Linked DNA regions of Homo sapiens: all the other regions are linked to region 3. Evidence: promoter capture Hi-C in 16 types of primary human blood cells and fetal thymus (Javierre and others, 2016). All regions are on one chromosome and are shown on one strand. The core of a region is centred on a gene start or on the middle of the fragment in contact, and the rest is flanking DNA. Distances in the headings are between cores, read along the strand shown. Region 1 has its middle 54 kb from the start of LINC02178. Region 2 has its middle 4.4 kb from the start of LINC02128. Region 3 holds the start of NKD1-AS1 (NKD1 antisense RNA 1). Region 4 has its middle 17 kb from the start of LINC02178. Region 5 overlaps CYLD (CYLD lysine 63 deubiquitinase). Region 6 has its middle 5.8 kb from the start of LINC02168. Region 7 has its middle 5.4 kb from the start of BRD7.

Region 1 (2,729 bases), core at 46-2,545, 160 kb after region 3:
TAAAAGTGACTGTGAAGGCGTGAACACAGACATCGGCAGAAATCTCAGGTTGGCTTGGTCACTAGTCACCTGTACCCCAAGATGTGAACACAGAGTTTATGTCTATTTCATGAACCTCTTAAAAATGGGGTGATCTCTACTGACATGTGGGTTATACGGAGATGAATAAACCTATCTCAGCTCAAAGGAACTCAAAGTTGAAAAACAGAGAGGCAGGCGCCAGGCCAAGGGGGGCTCATCCAGGTGAGGCAAATCGGCCAAGGACTGAGAGCTGGTAGGAAGTAGAATGAGGATAGAAGCAGCCTCCAGACTCCAAAGCAGTGCTCCTGTCCTCACCCCCTCTCTGCCACCCCCCAGCGGAAGGCAAGCAGGCCATGTTGCTTCAGCCTCTCTCTTCTCCCCTGGGTCCAGCTTTTACCCTTGAAAGCCTCTTGCATCTAAAGCATGAATTCCATGTTAAATAGGTCAGGCCACCTGCCTTCCAGGCCCAGCTCTCCAACCTGTCAGGCTCGGGCTGAACCATGAGACTGTTTCTCTTCAAAGTGGCCCGGGCCTCTTCTGACCTGCTGAGCTCTCCCCTGTAGCCCTCGTCAGTCTGTAGCTTGAGTGACAGCCAGAGCTGTTTGCAAGAGCACGTGGCAATGTCTCCCTGAGACCACCCACCATATGGATCTCAATCCCTTTTCCCGGGATCTCTCTCCCATCATTGGCATGAGAAACATGGTAGGGTCCTCCCAATTCGTGTCTGAGATCTGTGAGGACAGACAGCAGCCACAGATCCACTGCAGAATGGGCGTGTGGGAAATGCTGTGTGGTATAAGCTGTCCTCGTAGTTATAGAGAACAAAAGTCATCACCAATGTCCTTTATTAAGGGTTTATTCTGTACCAGGCTGTAGGTGTCCCCATTTGCTTCTTATTGTGAGAATTAAATTAGTGATGACAGGTACCTTCATTATCCCCATTTTATTAATGAAGAAACAGAGGTTCAGAGAGGCTAACTGGTTGCCTAATGTCACACAGCTGGTGAAAGCTGGGATTGACACCCCCATTGTCCGGCTGAGGAGTCTCTCAGCTCTTTCAGCGAGCATTGTGTTGTAAACACCTGGGGTCTTTCTCCACAGGAACACCCTAAGTATGGTTTGGGCTCAAGTGGCTGAAGTCTTGTCCCCCACTAGAATGGAAATGTCTTAGGGACAGGGTCTATCACCTCTTCATGGTGAATATCACGCAATGGGGCTTGAGGCGGAGGGATCTATTTGTGCCTGGGACAAAAGGGGGCGCAAGGAGGAGCAGGTCCCCACGGTTCGGCGGGGTCACCGGCTGGGCTGGCTGCCTGGCTTTCCCAAGCCTGAGGTGAGCATAAAAAGGCCAGTACAAGAAAGAGGAGGGAAAAAAAGGAAGAGCAGGAGAAGGAAGAGCCAGGCTGATCGGTGGGGAGTGCCTGCCCCAGATGGCCTGTGCGTACCAGGACTGTGGGGGCTTCCTTCACACACCGTCTGAATTATTCAGACAGGGAGGCCACAGGGGCCCGAGAGGTCTATGATGGTTAGGGGTTTCATGGCCACTTAGGTGGACCAAAAAAGAAAAGAATTGCGTTCCGCCTGCTTATCTCCTAACCTTATAAACTCAGGATTAGCAGATCAAGGGAGGATTTGGCACAGCTGAGGGACGACAGTGGCTTCAGAGAACAGTTTGGGCTCCATCCTTCATAATCAAATGAGCTTAGGTCATTGATAAGTAAATGGCGTTTTGAATCCCTCTAATTGGGCGTGTGGGTCACGCCTGAGCCCAGGCAGCCCAGCCGTCCTGGCAGAGTTAATGAGCCAGAGAGGGGCCTGGGTGTGGATCCCAACAGTGGCCACAAGAAGGAGTGCCAGGGTGTATCCTGGCTTGGGCAGGGGCCCCAGAAGTTAAGAGTAATCGCTTTGGAGCCAGAAGTGATGGATTCAAGCTCCCAGCACTGCCACCAGCTAGCTAGGAAACCTGGCGGGGGCGAGGGGGTGTCCCATAACTGCTGGCACCTCAATTTTCTCAGCCGTAAGATGGGGCCATGGACGTGTTAATAACTACCCTTTATTGAGAACTCCACACTCCATGTGCGGTGCTGTCAGAGGGAGGCATCACTCAACCCAGAGCCTATGCTCCTAAGGACCAGTGGAGACCAGCCTTGGAGGGCATCTGCAGCCTGAAAGGGACAGCGGAGTCCAGAGCAGGAGGCAGGGTGACAGCCGCTTCTCCCCTCCCCGCTAAGTGACCATGCAGACAGCACTGTGCCTTCACTTCCTCACCGGTAAGCGAGTTCTCCCGGGTGCAAGGGCACCACTGCAGGGAAAGCCCCGAGTGATGCCATTAATCAGTGATTGCTGTTACCACCCTTAGTGCTGGATCCTCCTTAGTGATGTGAATTTCCTGTGCCAGTCACCTGCCCGTTTGATATCGGGTCTTATCTCTGCCCTTACGCTCTGCTCTGTATCCAGGAGTGACGTTCCCTGGACTTCTTGGCCACCTGGTTTCTGGGTTGGTTTGGCCAATGGGCAGCACTGTGGAGAGCGAGGGGAGAGAAAAGCTAAAGTGTTTCTCCCCTCACTGTGTTTCCTGTGGTGTCCCCAACACCACTGTGTCAGCTCTCAGCTCCCAGCAGAGAGCCCCCACCAACCTTCAAATTCAGCCTCCTGCTGCACAGCCCTAGCTCTCAAGCTCTCACAACTCCACCTCCTCTCTCTCCTTC
Region 2 (2,902 bases), core at 367-2,866, 220 kb before region 3:
AATTACCTAAGGGAACTCAGCTGCTACCATAAAGCCAATGAAGTTATGACAGCAGGGCCCAGGAGGAATCAGAGCTGAGTAAAACCTGTCGAGGCTGCTGACAAATGATGATAAAGTGGTCGCTTTTGCCAGTGCTCAATGGAAATTGACAAGGTGAGCCTCCCCACCTAATGAACAGATCCAACCCCTGTTCCCGATGAAATGCGCAGCAAGTTTAATCTCAATAAGCATCAAAATAAATTTGTTCCCACGTTTAGAGAGAGCACAGACATGTGGGCAGGAGCCATGGCCTTCATGGATGGGACCCAGGCTGTGGTGTAGGGGTGGCAGTGAAGGTGCTGGGGGCTTCCCCATCAACAGTATCTCAGGTACATCTGCCTAAAAATACCTCCATTGCCCATTCTGTCCACTCCCAGAACAGAAACTGAGGCTCAGATGGCACCTACGTCACAGAGACCCCAACCGCTCAGAGAGCAATTGTCTCCATAACTCCTATTAAATGTGCGCAGCTCTGATTCTTATAAAGTAATGTCAGTTACAGAACAATACCAGCCTGCCAGGCAAGACACATTAGAGGAACAAGGCGGGTGGCGTGGGGGTGGGGGGAGAGACACTCCCACCACCAACCCTCGGAATACAATGCACCAGCTGCACATTAATAAATATGTAATGTTTGATTAGAAATATGTATAGTATTTTTTTCCCTCCCCAAATGCCGGCTCGCCCTCAGGCGGAAGACGGGATCTGGCCCACACTGACGGGTTTCTTTCTTGCTTGCTTTGAAAATACAAACTCAAATGTTTTCCTGTCCCAGCTGTTTCCCATTGTTGCTGTTTATCAGCTTGAAGGATGAACAGTGGAATAAAAAAACACGCTTGCATTTCAAATGTGCCAGTCAGTCACTCCATTGTTCAAAGAAGAAAGCTTAATTGTCTGTGCTGGCAAACTTCTTTTTGGTGAATGTCCAGGTTTTAAGAAAAGCTATTCAGCTGTGCAATTTGTTTAATACATGCAGAGAAAAGCATATAAAATCACACGTTTTTCTGAAAAAAAAATTAAATAAGGGGAAAAGAGGAATTTTGGAAAAGAACGAGTCACACATTGAAGTTTCCCGATTGCCCCCACTGGGCACAGGTTTCTGTGTCCTCTACTGAAGTCTCACTTTTCTCTTGGGATGCTCCAGAAAGTCCCACTCAGTGGTTGAGCTTGGTGCTGACAAACAGCACCGGCTCTGAGCTGACGGCCCAGGCAGCAGAAACTTCAGATCGTGCCGGCCAAAGCTCGGCTTTCCCTGTGATTACACCAACTTGTATTTGAGCAGCTCCTGCTTTCTAGGAGTGAGGTACAGATACAGCCAGCAATGCTTGAGAACTTCTATGGATAAAGTTAGTTATGCCCAAAGCAGAGAGGCCCTGTCACAGCTTACCTGTCAAGGTGGGCACACAGGGATAAGCCTGGGCACCCCCAGCAACCCATCTAATTCAGGGGCAAGTGGAATCCGTGGTTGCCTGGTGAGCCTGCAGGGAGAAGGCGCCCAATCTCAAACACCACCCCTGAACAATCCCACAACCAAATGGCAGAAATGCAGTTTCAAAGGAGCGTGGTCTTCTGCTTGGGCTTGAGTGTTCTGGGCTTACCTTGCAAAACAACCTGGCCTCAAGAGGTTTCCATGTCAAAACTGGATGCTTGGGGATGGGAGAGTGGTTTGCAATATCAGTAGTAAGAGCTTCTGTGTCCCCTCCAGACCCCCAAGTGTCTAAGAAACTGCCCCTAAGATGTAGATGACTGATACCAGATCCATATCTGTGAGCAGAGGACGGAAGAGAAATTGGATGTGCTGGCATTGAGGGGACACCAAGGCACTGGGGGAAAGGGCCCCCAAAGTGTGGTGGAAAAAAGAGGCAGCTTCATAGCTTAGCCAGAGGGTGATGGTATTACCCATCTCAATCACTCTCTTTCTAGATTTTACGAGTAATGTTTTTCGATACGTAAAAATAAATGATAAGGGCGTAAGTATCCCCGCCCAGTTCATAACAATGCCCCCACCAAATTTTTCAACATTCTCCCCCTGCCATGTCCCAGTGTTGTTCACAGTAAATTATTCATAGCTGCCCCATGAGGTCAATGCCCCCACTGCCTCAGTAAAGGAGAGAACAAGAGGCTTAGAGAGGGCCATGGCTTCCCAGCATCCCACAGCTGCTAAGCGGCCCCATGAGGACTTGAACCCAGCCCGCTGAGTTCTGGTCCACTTGGGCCTTGTGAAGAGAATCCCCAGTAGAAAAGGTTAATCAGAACCTTGTCAAGCTTCTCCACATCCCAACCAGCACTCTTCTAAGAGTATTTCCGGACTGGCCAGGGCAGCCTCTCTGGGCTGGGCATCTGATCCTAGGGGTGGCCTCAGGGTGACCCAGGAAGCCTCTGTGTCCGTAAGTGGCTCTCTGTCACACTCTTCACAGGGGTGATCTCAAACATCCTCCCCTCTCTAGAGCTCCTTGGCTCTACTCTTCAACTCTCTCCTTCTGCCTATGACAACCTCAAGTTCCATCTCACAGGGAACACAGAAGGAACAAATGGAAGCACAGTTCATTTCCTGCCACCAAACCTGGGAACACACCTACACCTATGCCTGCTCTTGACCTGTCCTGCCTGTCCTAAGCTAGCCCACCACCTGAACTTCAAGTCCTCATGTTCTCCCAGGGACTTCGCTGCAGCCATTGTCACCTCTTCTCTGCATCTTCAACCTCCCTTTTCCCCTACTGGCCACCACATCACCATGGAAACATGGCTAAGACTCTCCTGACTTAAGAAAAATGAGTACACAAGATGATAGACTCAGGAGGACAACACAGGCCTAGCCAGCTACCTGTCCTCCTGCCCCAATTCCTCAAAAGAAAAGCCATAT
Region 3 (2,874 bases), core at 82-2,581:
CCACGTGGCTGGTCCTAGGTCAGTATGAAAGAAGAGTTTATGAAGAAGCTAATGAAGCTAGGCTTCTGGGCCCTCTCACCTACACGGGCCCTTTCCAAGTCAGGATGGGTCTTTGCAAGGTGTTTATGTGGTCATATGTGTTTGTATTTGTAACATTTTCCAAATTAGGCATTTTATCCTCAATCTATTAAGATTGTCATCTAACCATTCTGACATCCTTTGCCTGTGTGAGGTGATACTAGGGGAAATACAGGCATTTCTGGACATGAGCTAAGGAGAGACTGAGTTGGTGAGATATTTATTTTGGTTTGGCCCCAGAAAGCTTCAGGTCCCATAAAACCTAGATCTACCCTGGTCAAGTGACCAGTAAAGTGGTCAATAAAGTGAGTCCAACATGTGCAAGAACCCCTGTGACCTGGGAACTTTCTTCCACCTGACAGGGCTGTGCTCATAGGATGGGAGTGCCCAGAGCTGGGAACTGCCACCCTTGCCCCCTGTGGGGGAGAAGCCACCAGGGGACAGAGGGAGAGATGATGGAGAGGGAGAGAGAGGGGCAGCGAGCGAGACATGTGTGTGAATGTGTGAGTATACGTGTGTGTGTGAGTGTGTGTGTGTGCGTGCATGTGTCCATGACATGGTTTTAGCTCCAGAATCCAAACAGGCCTTTTTAGGCAAGATCTACCCTAGGATTTTTCAATTTCATGAGCCAAAAGTTTAAGTGAGTTTCCAAAAGAACCGAAAGAATCCTGACTTAACAAATCCGTCTCTCTGAGATCCTGCTTTTTAGGAAAAACCACCAGCACCAGCACCACAGCAGTAATTCACTCACCCAGGGCAGTCCCTCTAGGGTGATTTCCAGCTTTTTCACCTGTGGGTGTCTGCCCCTTCCTGAGACCAGAAATGCCACCAGGGACTTCTTCTCCACCATCCTGCCTCCCAGCTGCATTTTACTGCCACTAGATTTTGCTTATGGACCAATTGTAACTGAGGGGAAACAAAAAAGGGGGAAAAGCGGGTAGGGGAGGAAATCCTTCTCAACAAATAACATTCTGGCCTTTTTTTCCTCATCAGAGCATAAGGCTGGTGGCCACTCGGCTTTGACATCTGAACAGGATTGAGACGAAACATCTGTTCAGGGAGGGAGGGGGAAGCCCCGGGAGAGAAGGGGAAAGGGGAGAAAAAGCCTTCTGTGGGCTAAAAATATCACGTCCCTTCCACTCTCCCCCGCCCGCCCCCACCCAAGTTAAAACATGTGATGAAATTCGGCTTTTACAATCTAACCCCGAGCTACTTGAAACTATTAAAGCCTCTCCGGTATCTGACACAAGTCAGAATTTCCACTGTTCCAGCTGAGCTTTTATGAGGAGCAGACTTGAGAGAAACTGCCAAGGTAACAAAGTCCGCTTGTTCTCTGTCACCGCTGCAACTCAGCTTCTGGGGGGACTGTAGGGGAGTGGAGAGTCAGGGCCGCTGACACCCCCCGACAGGACAGGCTCTGAACTGAGGGAGAGGAGCCGGCGGGGCATGGGCACCTGCCCCTCCATCTGGGGGTCCCTGCTGCCTTCCCATGAACTCCTCTTCCTCCCAGCCTTCCTGGGAAGCCACCGCCAGCCCTGTGTATTGAGGAGCCTTGCCCGAGAGTCCCGGGCAATGTCCGTGGCTACTTCCTGAGAAGTCTTGACTCGCTCTCTCTCTCTGTTTCTTGCCCAACTGCTCCTTGAACCCCAAGCTCCAATCACCAGGTATCCCACGGCCTCCTCGGTACCTCTCCTTGGATGTTAAATGGGCATCTTGAACCCAACTGGTCCAAAAACGGGAGGCTTGATGGTCACCCGCCAAAACCTCCACCTCAGAAGTGACACCGCCAAATCCTTAGTTCCTGAAACCAAAAGTCTAAGATGCATCCCTGATCTCTCTCGTTCCCTCAACCCCCTTCTCACCAGCTCCAACCTCCAGCCCCATGGACCTCTCCCCAGCCCCAAGCTCCCAGGCTAGGCCAGCACCATCTCCTCTCGCCTGCGACCCTGCAGTCACCTCCTGGTTTCATTGCCCTCTTCCTCCCTGCCCATGGGCAGTCCCTCCCAGAAGCCAGAATTAACTTCTTAAAACAGAGGTCAGAATCCAGCAGTCACCCACCCAACCATCTGGGCAGAACCACGCAACCTAAGGGCGTGGTCCCACACTTGCCGACCACCCCACTCTCATTCCTGATGCCACATCGGCCTCCTTTTTGTTCTTCCCCAAACACCAAGTTCCCTCCACTCTGGGGTTCTGCTCACTCATAGCTGCTCTCCCCCTACATTCTTCCATGGCTGGCTCCTTCCTGGCATCTGCATCTCAGCTGAAACATCACCTTCTCAGAAAAGCCTCCTCACTCTACCTCTCCCTGGGTTTTACGTCTTAGCAGAGAACCACTACTAGAAACTTCCATGCTCCTTCGCAGATTTATGTATTCATCCCTGCCTCCCTCCTGTGAATGTCGTGACTGCTGGGCCTGCCTACCTTGCTCGTGCCTGTGAACCCAGGGCCCAGCAGAGCCCCTAGCTGCAGCAAATGCCCAGCACATACTGAATGGTGAGGAGTGAGGGGCCAGATTCTGTTCTCAGTCTGCTGTGTGACCCTGGACAGGTCACTTCCCTCTCTGGGCTTCAGTTTTCCAACTACAGATGAAAGGAAGTACAGGCCTCCCAAGTTCCTTTGCCCAACATCTGACCCCTGGGAGCCTGGACAGACTGGCCCAGGCCCCAACACAGGTACACAGGTCCTGCCTGAGAGGCCGGAGGGAGGGGTCACCTGCTTTCAGTGAGGCAGAGGGAGAGGTCACCTGCTTTCAGTGACTACAGGGTATTGACTTTCCTTCTTCAGTGAGTGTTT
Region 4 (2,774 bases), core at 68-2,567, 200 kb after region 3:
ATTTAAAAGGAGAAATTAAAACATTCCCAGATTTTAAAAAAGCTGAGAGAGTTTGTCACTACTAGACTTGGCCTAAAAGAAATGCTAAAGGGAGCCTTTCTGGCTGAAAAGACACTAGACAGTAACTCAAATTCATATGAAGAAATTGGGAATTCTGGTAAAAATAATTACATAGATAAATATAAAAGCCAGTGTAATTATATTTTTGGTTTCTAACTCCACTTTTTGTTTTCTAACTTATTTATAAGACAAATGCCTAAAACAACAATTAAAATTCTATATTAATAGGCAAACAGTGTATAAAGATGTAATTTATGACTTTAAAAGGGAATGGACTGAGGTACATAGGAACAGAGTTTTTGTATGCTATTGAAACTAAGTAGGAATTAATTCCAACTAAGTTTTTATATATTTAGGATGTTAATTGTAATCCCCATGGTAAACATGGGGATAAATACTCATGACCTTGTATTTGCCAATAGAGTCTTAGAAAAGACACCAAAAGTAAAGGAAACAACAACAAAAATACATACATTGAACTTTGTCAACTTTTAAAACTTTTGTGCACCAAAAGACACTATCAAGAGAGTGTGCCAGGTGTGGTGGCTCACGCCTGTAATCTCAAACAGTTTGGGAGGCTGAGGTAGAAGGACTACTTGAGCCCAAGAATTCAAGACCAGCCTGGGCAACATAGTGAGACCCCATCTCTAAAAAAAAAAAAAATTAGCTGGGTGTGGTGGCACATGCCTACAGTCCCAACTACTCAGGAGGCTGAGGCAGGAGGATCTCTTGAGCCCAGGAGGTCGAGGCTGCAGTGAGCCATGATCACGCCATTGTACTCTAGCCTGAGTGACAGAACAAGACCCTGTCTCAAAAAGAAAAAAAAGAGTGAGAGAGTAAAAAGGTAACACACAAAATTGAAGGAAATTCTTGCAAATCATATATCTGATAAGGGATTAGTATCTAGAATATATAAAGAATGCCTAGAACTCAACACACAAGAAAACAAACAACCTAATTCAAAAAAAGGGCAAAGAACTTGAATAGACATTTCTTCAAAGAAGATATGCAAATGAATCTGGGTGTGGTGGCTCAAGCATATAATCCCAGCACTTACAAAAATTAGCCAGGCATGGTGGTACACACCTGTAGTTCCAGCTACTTGGGAGGCTGAGGCAGAAGAATTGCTTGAACCCGGGAGGCAGAGGTTGCAGTGAGCTGAGATTGTGGCACTGCACTCCAGCCTGGGTGACAAAGAGAGACTCTGTCTCAAAAAAAAAAAAAAAAAGATATTCAAATGGCCAATAATCACATGAAAGGATGTTCAACATCATTAATTTTTAGGGCAGTGGAAGTCAAAACCACAATGAGATACCACTTCACACCCACTAGGATGGCTACATTCAAAAAAATAGAAAATAACAAGTATTGGTGAAGATGTAGAGAATATGAAACCCTCAAATTTTGCTGGCAGGAATGTGAAATGTTTTGGTTACTGTGGAAAATAGTTTGGCAGCTCTTCAAAAAGTTAAACATAGAATTACTATATGACATCTATTACGTTCTTAGATACACACCCAACATTGAAATCAAGGATTCAAAAAAGTACTTATATATGCATGTTCATAGCACTGCTATTCACAATAGTCAAGGGGTGGAAACAACCCAAATGTCCATTAACAAGCAAATGGATAAGCAAATTGTGGTATTATACAAGTAATGTTGTTCAGCCATAACAAGGAGCTAAGAACTCACACATGCTACAACATAGGTGAACCTTGAAAGCATTATGTTAAGAGACAGAAGCCAAACACAAAAAAGATCATATATTATATTATTCCATTTATAGGAAATAGCCAGGGTAAGTAATTCCATAGAAATGGAAAGTAGAAAGATGGTTTTTCAGGGGCTAGACTGAGAGGGAAATAGGGAGTCATTGTTTAATGGATACAGAGTTTCCGTTTGGGAAGATGCAAAGATTCCACAGATGGAGGGTGGTGATGATTGCACAACCTTGTGAATGTTCTAAGTGCTACTGAATTGTTTGCTTTAAAATGGTTAACTTATGTTATGTGAATTTCACCTAAAACCCAAAACCTTGAAGAGAGATTTTGTCATCTCAGTTTTCTGATGAGAAATCCAATGTACCAGGAGGCAAGTAATTTGTTCCAGGTCGCACATGCCTTTCTTAGCAGTCAAGGTCAAGGATCACAGCTTCTGAATCTAAGGGCAAGCCATGGTTGGCCTCAACCTCAGGGGAAGTGACAGTAAAATCAGGAGGCTAGGGGAGAGGTGAGACACGATGTGTAGACTTCACCTGGATTTTATAGGCCTGGTGGCCTTGTTTGTTGGTTTGTTTAAAAAAAAAAAAAAAAAAAAGATTTTCCAAGGGCACACTCACCTTTACACATGTATTTTTTGTGCAAGTGCCAAAGTATTGAATGGATTTCGTAAACCCAACCATAAACCTCGGCAATGGCTCCCATAGGAGCTGCCGGCCACCAGCATGGAGAGTCTCATGAGCTGTGGCAAAGCCATGGCCCACCACACCCAGACTCCACCACCCACACCTCCCTCAGGTTACTGTCGCTGTGGGGGCCATAAACTCAGCATTTTATAGCATAGCCTGTTTTTTCCCAAATCAGTCACCAGCCCCATATATTTGCTATGTATGACCAGACTATTTAGAAATTTAAAGGTTTTCGTATGTACTGGAATACTTCTATTTTTAAGGTTTTGAAGACATGCTTGAAATATACTGAAAAATAGAATAG
Region 5 (2,983 bases), core at 110-2,609, 160 kb before region 3:
TGAGGGTTGCACAACATATTACATTTCAATTTTTAAAAACTTAGGAGAAAATCTTCCATATGTAGAGCTAAACAAAAGTTGTCGAACTTGACACAAAAGCTTGACCCACACAAGAAAAACTATAAATTGGACTTCATAAAAATAAAAATCTTGTACTCTGTGAAAGACCCTATTAAGAGGATGAAAAGACAAGCTACACATTGGGAAATAAAATGTGCAAACCATATATTGAACAAAGAATTAGTATCTAGAATACATAAAGACTTCTCAAAACTCAACAGTAAAAAAGCACAGGATCCAATGAGAACCTGGGCAAAAGAGATGAGGACACCTTTCACTCAAGAATATATACGAAGGCTGGGTGCAGGGGCTCATGCCTGTAATCCCAGCACTTTGGGAAGCCGAGGCAGGTGGATCACTTGAGGTCAGGAGTTCGAGACCAGCCTGGCCAACATGGTGAAACCCTCTCTCTACTAAGAACACAAAAATTAGCTGGGCTCGGGGGCGCACACCTGTAATCCCAGCTACTTGGGAGGCTGAGGCAGGAGAATCACTTGAACCCAGGAGGTGGAGGTTACAGTGAGCCGAGATCACGCCACTATACTCCAGCCTGGGTGAACAGAGCAAGACTCCATCTCAAAAAAAAAAAAAAGAAAGAAAGAAAAAGAATATATACAGATGACAGTGAGTACACGGAACGATGTTCAACATCAGCAGCCATCAGGTAAATTCAAATCAAAATCACAGTGAAATACAACTACAAATCTCTCTGAATGGCTAAAATTAAAAATAGGGACAACATCAAATGCTGGAAAGGATACAGAGAAACCAGATTACCCATATATTGCCAGTGGTAAAGTAAGAGTACAGTCACTCTGGAAAACAGTTTAGCGGTTTCTTAAGAAACTAAATTTGCAAATATCACCGAATACGCACTTGGACAATTATGTCAAGAAATAAAGATTTATGTGCACTCAGGAAACTACACACAAATATTTATAAAAGCATTATTCATAATAGCCAAAAACTGGAAACAAACCAGATGTCCTTCAACAGCTAAACAGTTAAACAAACTGATACATCCATAATATGGAATATTACTCAGGAATAAACAGGAACAATCCATGGATATATATAAAATAATGTAGATAAATCTCCAGAGAATTATGCTCAGTGAAAAAAGAGCCAGTCTCAAAAGGTTACATACTGTACAACTCCATTTATGTAACATTCTTGAAATGACTGAATTACAGAAATCGACAGCAGATGAGTGGTTGTCAGAGGTTAAGGATGGGGCAGGAGGAAGAGGGAATTTGTGCGGCAGTAAAAGGGCAAGATAAGAGATCTTTGTGGGATGGGAATGTTCTGCTTCTTGATTGTATCAGGGTCAACATTCTGGTTGTGATGTTGCACACGTCTTGTTTTACAACATGTTAATGTTACCGCTGGGAAAAATTGGCTAAAGGGCACACAGGGTCCCTCTCTCTGCATGTGAATCTATAATAATCTGAAATGCTGTAAAGCATATATCTGCAAAAGGGTTTGTATTCAAAATTTATAAATAACTCTCAAAACCCAATCATAAAGAAACAATTAATAATCGGCCAAAGACTTTCACAGATACTAAACCAAAGAAGATATACAGATGACAAATATGCACATGGAAAGATGTTTGATATCACTGGTCACCAATGAAGCGCAGAGTAAAACCACAATTAGATGTTACTAAAATTTAAAAAACTGATCATACCAAGTGTTGGCAAAGATATGGAAGAACTGTATCTCTCATATACTGCTTCTGGGAATGTAAAATAATGCAACCACTTTGGAAACACAGCTTGGAAGGTTTGGGGGTTTTATTTAAGTTAACAGTCACCTATGATATTACCAGCCATTCCACATCTAGGTAAGTACCCAAGTGAAATGAAGGCATATGTCCATACAAAGATTCGTACACAAATTTTCATAGCAGCATTATTCATAATAGCCAAAAACTGAAAAAAACTCAAGTGTCCATCAACAAGTGAATGGATATAGAAACTAATATAACCATATCAACAATAAAAAGGACAACATGGATGAATAAAAAATAATTATGTCGAGTGAAATAAGCCAGACAAAAAAGAATGCATTCTGAGTTATTCCACTTTTGTAAAATCCTTAAAAATGTGAACAAGTGTATACTGATGTAAAGAAGACCAGTGGTTGTCTGAATGTAGGGGGTTGAGAGGACAGGAAGAGGCAGAGGGAGGGATCCCAAGGGACATATTTTGGGGTGATGGATATGTTCACTATCTTGATCGTAGAGATCGTCAAAAAAACAGCATTATACTCCCAACCCCCACAACTAGAACAGAAGACACAGGTTGAACTAGAAAAACCGAAATGTATAATTTTGGGGTGGTGCTAATTGATATGCTTCATCATAACAACTTCAAGAACATGAACATAATGTCAAATTAGATATGTTAGCAGTGTTTTTAACCATTTAGAACAGAAATATAAGAGAGAAACAATTTTATAACAGGTTTAAGATTCCTGCATCTTTCAATCAAAGGTATCCTTCAGAAGCCAACTATTACAAGCAATTGACTAGAAAGAATTCTTTCCTAAGCTTCCCAGCCATTCAACTGCTCTGAAAAGAATCTTTTTTCTTTTTTAAATGCTGTAAATATTAATTTTGTTTCACGGATGAAGGTAATTGGGCAAGAAAAAGAAACTAAGGAACTAAAGGAGACACTTTGACTTTTTTTTCCCCTCAAGAAAAGAGTCCTAATGATGACATGAAAGGCAGATGAAGACTCATTTAAGTAAACTAAATTAATTTTCATTTAAACAACTTTAGTTTTTAAAGTCTATTTGCAAGCTTTATTTTGTTGACAAATAAGTGTAATTTATGTATTATGTTATAAATGCTGGTATCATTCTTAATTATCTCCTATTGAGGGTTTATGAAAATCAAGCTTTAAAAGAAAAAAAAATA
Region 6 (2,917 bases), core at 89-2,588, 200 kb before region 3:
CCTGCTGGGAATGCAGCCCAGTAGGTCTCAGCCTCATTTTACCCAGCCCTTATTCAAGATGGAGCTGCTCTGGCTTAAACGCGTCTGGCACATACAGAGTTAAAAAAAAGAAAAGTTGCCAGATTTGTACAGATCAGGAACTTTTGCTTCTCTTAGAAATTTCTGACTTCGTCTGAAAAATCAGAACATAGGCCAGGTGCGGTGGCTTACGCCTGTAATCCCAGCACTTTGGGAGGCCGAGGCGGGTGGATCACGAGGTCGGGAGTTCAAGACAAGCCTGGCTAAGATGGCGAAACCCTGTCTCTATTAAAAATACAAAAAAATTAGCCAGGCATGGTGGCACTCACTGCTACGCAGGAGGCTGAGGCAGAGAACTGCTTGACCCCGGGAGGTGGAGGTTGCAGTGAGCTGAGATCGCACCACTGCACTCCAGCCTGGGCAGCAGAGCGAGACTCCGTCTCAAAAAAAAAAAAAAAAATCAGAATATACTGGCCTGCTTCTTCCTTTCCTTTACCATATCAGCTCTCCACCAACACTCCAACCTTCTCCCTTCCCTAAGGTACCTGCCTGGCCCCTGTAGGCAAGTGAGCTTGAGAGTCCCAGTCTAGGATCCTTCATTTTACAGATAGAGGGACTGCGGTTCATAGACAGACATCTTGCCAAGGATCATGGAGTGACCAGAGTCCAGTAGCTTGGGTATGACTGGTTTCACAGAGCACCCAGCTCGAACTGGTGGCCCCCAGCGAGGTGGATCGGCCCCTGAGTGGGCACTGTCCCTGCCTGGCTCTAGCCAAGGCCTGGAGGGAAGAGACTGCCCATAGTGAACCAAAGCTCAAGGCTCAAGGGCTCCTAGACAGTGGGGATGAAAATGAGCCAACACCATGCACTGGACGTTTGCCATTGAAAGCAACAGGCTGAACTGGGTAATTCTAGATGATCCAGATGTGGGTGAAGGAAATTCTTCTGTGGCATGCCAAGGAGAAAGGGACTGGAAAAGTCTTCCCGCCCAAAATAGCATGGTGCAAAAAGCACCCAGCTTGGAAATGCCCATGTGAAATGGCCGGTGGCCGCGCAGCTTCCTGAGAATCATTCAGTCTCCCGACAAATATGGGAGGAGGCCACAGTTGGTGCCCCCTGTTCTGGTTGCTGATGAGACAGGGACAATGTGGTTTTCACCCTCTGGGGGACCCACTGCCGAGCTGACAGATGAGTATAAAGCATTGCGCAAATGCAAGGACTCCTGGAGGGGGTGTGGGGACCGTGGGCACCTCGGGCTCACGTAGAAGGAGCTGAGACTTCGTCTCTACTCAGGCAAGTGCCTGGGAATATGGCTTTTGTATAGGGACAGGCTTGACTTCCTCCTGAGTGTGTCCACCTGAGGCAGGAGGTGGCAGGTTGGTGAGGAGGGAGAGGTGGGGATGGTGCAGGCCTAAGGCCTGGAAGAGCACTGGGGAGCCGCTGAGGGACAGGGTGGAATCAGGAGCTAGAGCCCTCTTGGCTGCAGAGTGTACGGCTGAGGCCACCAGCCCTGCCAGACTGTGGAATCCTCACAGTTCAGGAAGCCCAAGGAAGATTGGTGTTTGAGTCACTTAAGGAAGGCCTGGTGTGCATGGCAGGAAGAGGCTCCTCTCCACCCAGGAAAGCCTGCAGAGCTCGGACCAAGCGCCAGCCCCAGGCGCTGGGCCTCCCTAGTCAGAGCCTCGAGCTGCCCTACAATGTCCCAGGGTGAAATGGCCCCCCGTGAACACGGACTTCCCATGCTGGGGTTCTGTTCCAGCTCTGCCTCTAACTCTGCCCGTGGGTGCAGCCCTGCCTCCCTAGGCAGCAGCCTTTAAAGTTGGAGAACTTTAGAAAATTCTCCAACTTTAAAAAGAAAGATTGAGCTGGGACTGGGAGGCTGAGATGGGAGGGTTGCTTGAGCCCAGGTTTTCCAGCCTGGGCAACATAGTGAGACAGACCCTCTTGCTAATGAATTAAAGAAAGAAAAAGAGAGAGAGAGAAAGAGAGGGAGAAGGGGTGGACCCATCTCAATGGCTCCAGTGACTGAGGTCCTTGATGCTAATGGTAGTCCAGACTAGCTTTCTACTTTCTACACTGCTTTCTGGGCTGACTTTCAGTCTTTTTCTCGACCCTGTGCTGAGCCTGGGTTTTATCAAAAAAAGGAGAAAACACACAGGCACATGCACCTTGAGCTGGAGGTGACTACTCCAAGTCACTGAACTTCAACACTACAGAAAGTTTGTCAGATCCCAGAGTGGTGGCTCATGCCTGTAATAGAGCTTCCGGATGCCCAGGCAGGAGGATCACTTGAGGTCAGGAATTCAAGACCAGCCTGGGCAACATAACAAGATCACCTTCTCTACGAAAAATTTTTAAAATTGGCTGGGCATGGTGGTGCATGCCTGTAGTCCCAGATACTTGGGAGGCTGAGGCAGGAGGATCGCTTGAGCCCAGGAGTTCGAGACTAGCTTGGGCAACATAGTGAGATCCTGGTCTCATAAAAAATAAATTCATGAATGTGTCAAAACTCATCTAACTGCTTACTTAAAATATGTGTATGTTACTGTATGTAAATTACACCTCAGTGGAGTTGGTTAAAAAATAATAATGAAAGAAGGAAGGAGTGTAAACTTTGGAAAAGTCTGCAGCTGTCTCTCCTAAAGCTAAAATCCACCAATTCAAGAAGGATCACAGTAGGGTCATGTGTAGTAGCCCCAAACTGTCAGCAATGCCCCTTTCCATCAGTATGAGAACCATAAATAAACGATTGTATATTTACGTAAGAGAGCATCACATAGCTATGAAGTAGAATCACTGACATACACAACAGAGACAGTCTGAAGGATGCACACAGCATGACATCAGACACTACCTGAAGTGTGCACGATCTATGACTCCCTTTACATAAGTTCAAAAC
Region 7 (2,829 bases), core at 76-2,575, 240 kb after region 3:
ACATATTTTTAAAAACAAAGTCTTTATCAGACACTGACAGAGCGTCAGAAGTGCTTCCCTAGAACCAACAGCTTGAAAGCAGCCAGTCGAGTCCTCTTTCTTTATCTTTTTACCTTTTTTTTTGTTTTTGAGACAGGATCTCACTGTGTTGCCCAGGCTGGAATGCAGTGGCACAATCATAGTTCACTGCAGCCTTCACCTCTTGGTCTCAAGTGATCCTCCTGCCTCAGCCTCCTGAGTAGCTGGGACCACAGGCATGCACCACTACACCTGGCTAATTTTTAATTTTTTATAGAAATGGGGTCTCGCTACGTCACCCAAGCCAGTCTTGAGCAATCCTCCCACCTCAGCCTCCAAAAGTGCTGGGATTACAGGCATGAGTCAGCGCATCTGACTGACTCCTCCTCTTTCTGCAGCCCTGTTTAGATGGAGATAGGGGAGAGACATGTCCAGGTTTCACAGCCAGTCTTTGGCAGAGCCAGGACTATGAAATTAGAGATCTGGGTGACATGGCACAAGCCCACAGCCACAGTCTGATAAGAGTTTATCAAACACATAGTGACTTTCTGTGAAGGGAATTTAATCCTGGGCCCCGTCCGCAGGGCAGTACTCCAAGGAATCATGATGGACCGGGAGCCCGGGCCTGCAGGATCATTTCTGAGCTGCTCATGGTCTGTCCCCAGCCTGGGGCTCCTGGAAAATGCCCAGCTTTCTCCAAGGTGACCATTTCATCTGGTTTATCCCACTTTACAGGGGGAAGTCCACACCCCACAGCCTGTCATTCAAGGCCTCAGTGTTCCCTTCTGTATCTCTGTCTCATCACACCTCCCACTCTCCAGCATCACCTCAGTGGCCTTGCATGCACAAGTCTACTTGTCTGATCCACCCTCCCCCAGCCCTTCCAGTGCTTAGAGGCTCCCTGCAGCCTGGCCGAGCTTTCCTTCCTCTACACACTCTCAGCCCGCCACTGCCCTCACCTGGCTCCAGTGCTCTGTCCTCCCCTGCTGGGTGTCCTACTCTCCTGCTTCTCCTCCTGCCTCCCTCCCCCTCCTCAGTCTCCTCTGCTGCTTCCTCATCCTTTATTCACCTGTTAGATAATATTGAAGCTCTTCAAGGCTCCATCTTCTCTGATCACTCTACTCTCTCCTCCTGGGTGGTCTCATTCACTCCTGAGGTTCCAAAGACATCTCTATGCCAAAAATCTATTTTCAGGTCTCACCTCCCTTCCAAGCCCCAGACACATGCATTCACCTTCCTACTTGGATTCTCCTCTTGGGTTCTGCATAGGCATCCCTAACCCCTCCTAAGTTCTTCCTCCTACATAACTCTTGAATTATCCCATTGCACCATCCCCACATCATCCACGCTAGACCAAGCCACCCCCATCTCCCCTTTGAAGACCACATCACTTCTAAGCTGGTCTCTCTGCCCGGTCTCCTAACCCACTCCAATTCTTCCTTCATTCAGAAGCCAAAGCGCTCTTGTTAAATTGCCAATATGGCCATGCACCCACGTCCACTGCCTTCATGGGCATCCCAAATAAAATCAAGCATCTCTGCCATGCCTTGAAAAGCTCTGCCCAGCCCAGCCTTTCTTCCAGACACAGTCCCCATCATCTCTCTTGCTCCAAACCTGCTCTCCTCTCCTCCCTGACTGCACCCAACTTTCCCTCGCCTTTGCACATGCTGACCTCTCTGCCTGTTTAGTAGATGCAGCTGATGCCCCCTTGGCTCACCTCTCCTGAAGGCACATCCTGCTGGAGGGGCATCACCAGCAGCTGGGAGTGTTGGCCACTCACGGAAGGCAGCCGCACACCTCCCTCAGAGAATTGCCCTGGGACAAACTAGAGTCACCTCTGTAATAGGCGACAATCAGGCAGACCTCGCTGCCCACCATGGGCTACAAAAGGCCAGCCACCTCCCACAGGGTGGGACTGTTCCCTGGACAGTTGATGTTCCCAATCCCCCCTCGCCCCGCCACCACTGTGGCACGGGGCTGAGGCTGGGACCACCTCTTTCTCTGCTTCTACCCACCCCGTCCTGCTTCTCTCCCAGCTTCTCCCCAATTGCCACCCCAACAGATCCACGCCTCAGGTTCCACTTGTAGGGCACCTAACCAAGACTTATCCTCCAGGTTAGGCCTGGATGAGCCCTCAGCCTGGGTCAGAGCACTATCTGGACAGCAGCTTGCTGTTTTCCTTTCTAACCGTTAGCATGGCCATGATTAAATATTTGTCTGTGTTCTCTGTCTAACATGCATCTCACTGTGCTCTCCATAAGGGCAGGGCTGTGTCTATTTTACTCCCACCGTGTTCCTAGCACCCCCCAGCACATAGTAGGCACACAGAAAATATGAACTGAAAGAAGGAAGGAAGGTCCTGATGTTGCCTCTGTCTTATTTGATCAAGGGCTCTGAGGCTAAATGACTTTTGGGGTTGGCAGCCGTGAGTGTCATGGCTTGGGCTCGCTGCCCTCCAGTAAGCAGCTCTGAGACCGTGTGGGCAGAGGCCATGTGGCATGCCTGCGTGGATGGCGGCCATCCACCGCCTCTCTCTTTTCCTCACTCAGAGGCAGCAGCTGGGGCTGCTCCGCCAGTGACCGTGAGCAACCCTGGAAGCTGCACTGTCAACAACCTGTCATAGCGAATCACCCCAGGCCACTGATTCCCCACAGAGCTGCCTGCTGAACCAGCCTCAGCCTCTTGAGGCCTCTCCCAGCAGCACTCACAGGCTGGCATCAGGCTGGCACCAGGAAGGCCCAGACCTGCTCCTGGTGCCAAATGAGGCACTAGCTGGAGCTGCTGGGAGCCTGGGCTCAGGGGATGCCACCT

What was found. Contacts are between HindIII fragments. The CHiCAGO score rates a contact against its expected background, and 5 or more counts as called.
Region 1: a contact is called between a fragment that was not itself captured here and the fragment with the promoter of NKD1-AS1 in region 3, in 4 of 17 cell types (non-activated CD4 T cells, naive CD8 T cells, total CD8 T cells and 1 more). The highest score is 6.4, in non-activated CD4 T cells.
Region 2: a contact is called between a fragment that was not itself captured here and the fragment with the promoter of NKD1-AS1 in region 3, in 1 of 17 cell types (neutrophils). The highest score is 5.0, in neutrophils.
Region 4: a fragment that was not itself captured here is called in contact with the fragment with the promoter of NKD1-AS1 in region 3 in 6 of 17 cell types (naive CD4 T cells, total CD4 T cells, naive CD8 T cells and 3 more); the score reaches 9.5 in naive CD4 T cells.
Region 5: a contact is called between a fragment that was not itself captured here and the fragment with the promoter of NKD1-AS1 in region 3, in 1 of 17 cell types (non-activated CD4 T cells). The highest score is 5.6, in non-activated CD4 T cells.
Region 6: a contact is called between a fragment that was not itself captured here and the fragment with the promoter of NKD1-AS1 in region 3, in 4 of 17 cell types (non-activated CD4 T cells, activated CD4 T cells, neutrophils and 1 more). The highest score is 9.0, in non-activated CD4 T cells.
Region 7: a fragment that was not itself captured here is called in contact with the fragment with the promoter of NKD1-AS1 in region 3 in 9 of 17 cell types (non-activated CD4 T cells, naive CD4 T cells, total CD8 T cells and 6 more); the score reaches 13.7 in non-activated CD4 T cells.

Annotation. Positions count from the first base shown.
Region 1 is chr16:50,447,782-50,450,510 of GRCh38, reverse strand. No RefSeq gene overlaps it. Among named protein-coding and RNA genes, the nearest start is that of LINC02178, 54 kb to the right of the region's middle. RefSeq lists a silencer at 1,639-1,933. The HindIII fragment of the contact is 8,671 bases long and covers 1-2,729 here.
Region 2 is chr16:50,834,210-50,837,111 of GRCh38, reverse strand. No RefSeq gene overlaps it. Among named protein-coding and RNA genes, the nearest start is that of LINC02128, 4.4 kb to the left of the region's middle. RefSeq lists an enhancer at 1-1,331. The HindIII fragment of the contact is 1,380 bases long and covers 927-2,306 here.
Region 3 is chr16:50,612,107-50,614,980 of GRCh38, reverse strand. It overlaps NKD1-AS1 (NKD1 antisense RNA 1), which reads left to right and starts at 1,331. Exons shown (of 3, transcript XR_007065197.1): 1 at 1,331-1,390. The region is part of intron 4 of NKD1 (NKD inhibitor of Wnt signaling pathway 1); the gene reads right to left. The HindIII fragment of the contact is 2,641 bases long and covers 325-2,874 here.
Region 4 is chr16:50,410,464-50,413,237 of GRCh38, reverse strand. No RefSeq gene overlaps it. Among named protein-coding and RNA genes, the nearest start is that of LINC02178, 17 kb to the right of the region's middle. The HindIII fragment of the contact is 4,017 bases long and covers 1-2,774 here.
Region 5 is chr16:50,768,123-50,771,105 of GRCh38, reverse strand. All of the region lies in intron 5 of CYLD (CYLD lysine 63 deubiquitinase), which reads right to left. Among named protein-coding and RNA genes, the nearest start is that of CYLD-AS1, 27 kb to the right of the region's middle. The HindIII fragment of the contact is 2,515 bases long and covers 102-2,616 here.
Region 6 is chr16:50,811,058-50,813,974 of GRCh38, reverse strand. No RefSeq gene overlaps it. Among named protein-coding and RNA genes, the nearest start is that of LINC02168, 5.8 kb to the right of the region's middle. The HindIII fragment of the contact is 5,044 bases long and covers 1-2,917 here.
Region 7 is chr16:50,373,010-50,375,838 of GRCh38, reverse strand. No RefSeq gene overlaps it. Among named protein-coding and RNA genes, the nearest start is that of BRD7, 5.4 kb to the right of the region's middle. RefSeq lists a silencer at 807-1,101. The HindIII fragment of the contact is 5,152 bases long and covers 1-2,829 here.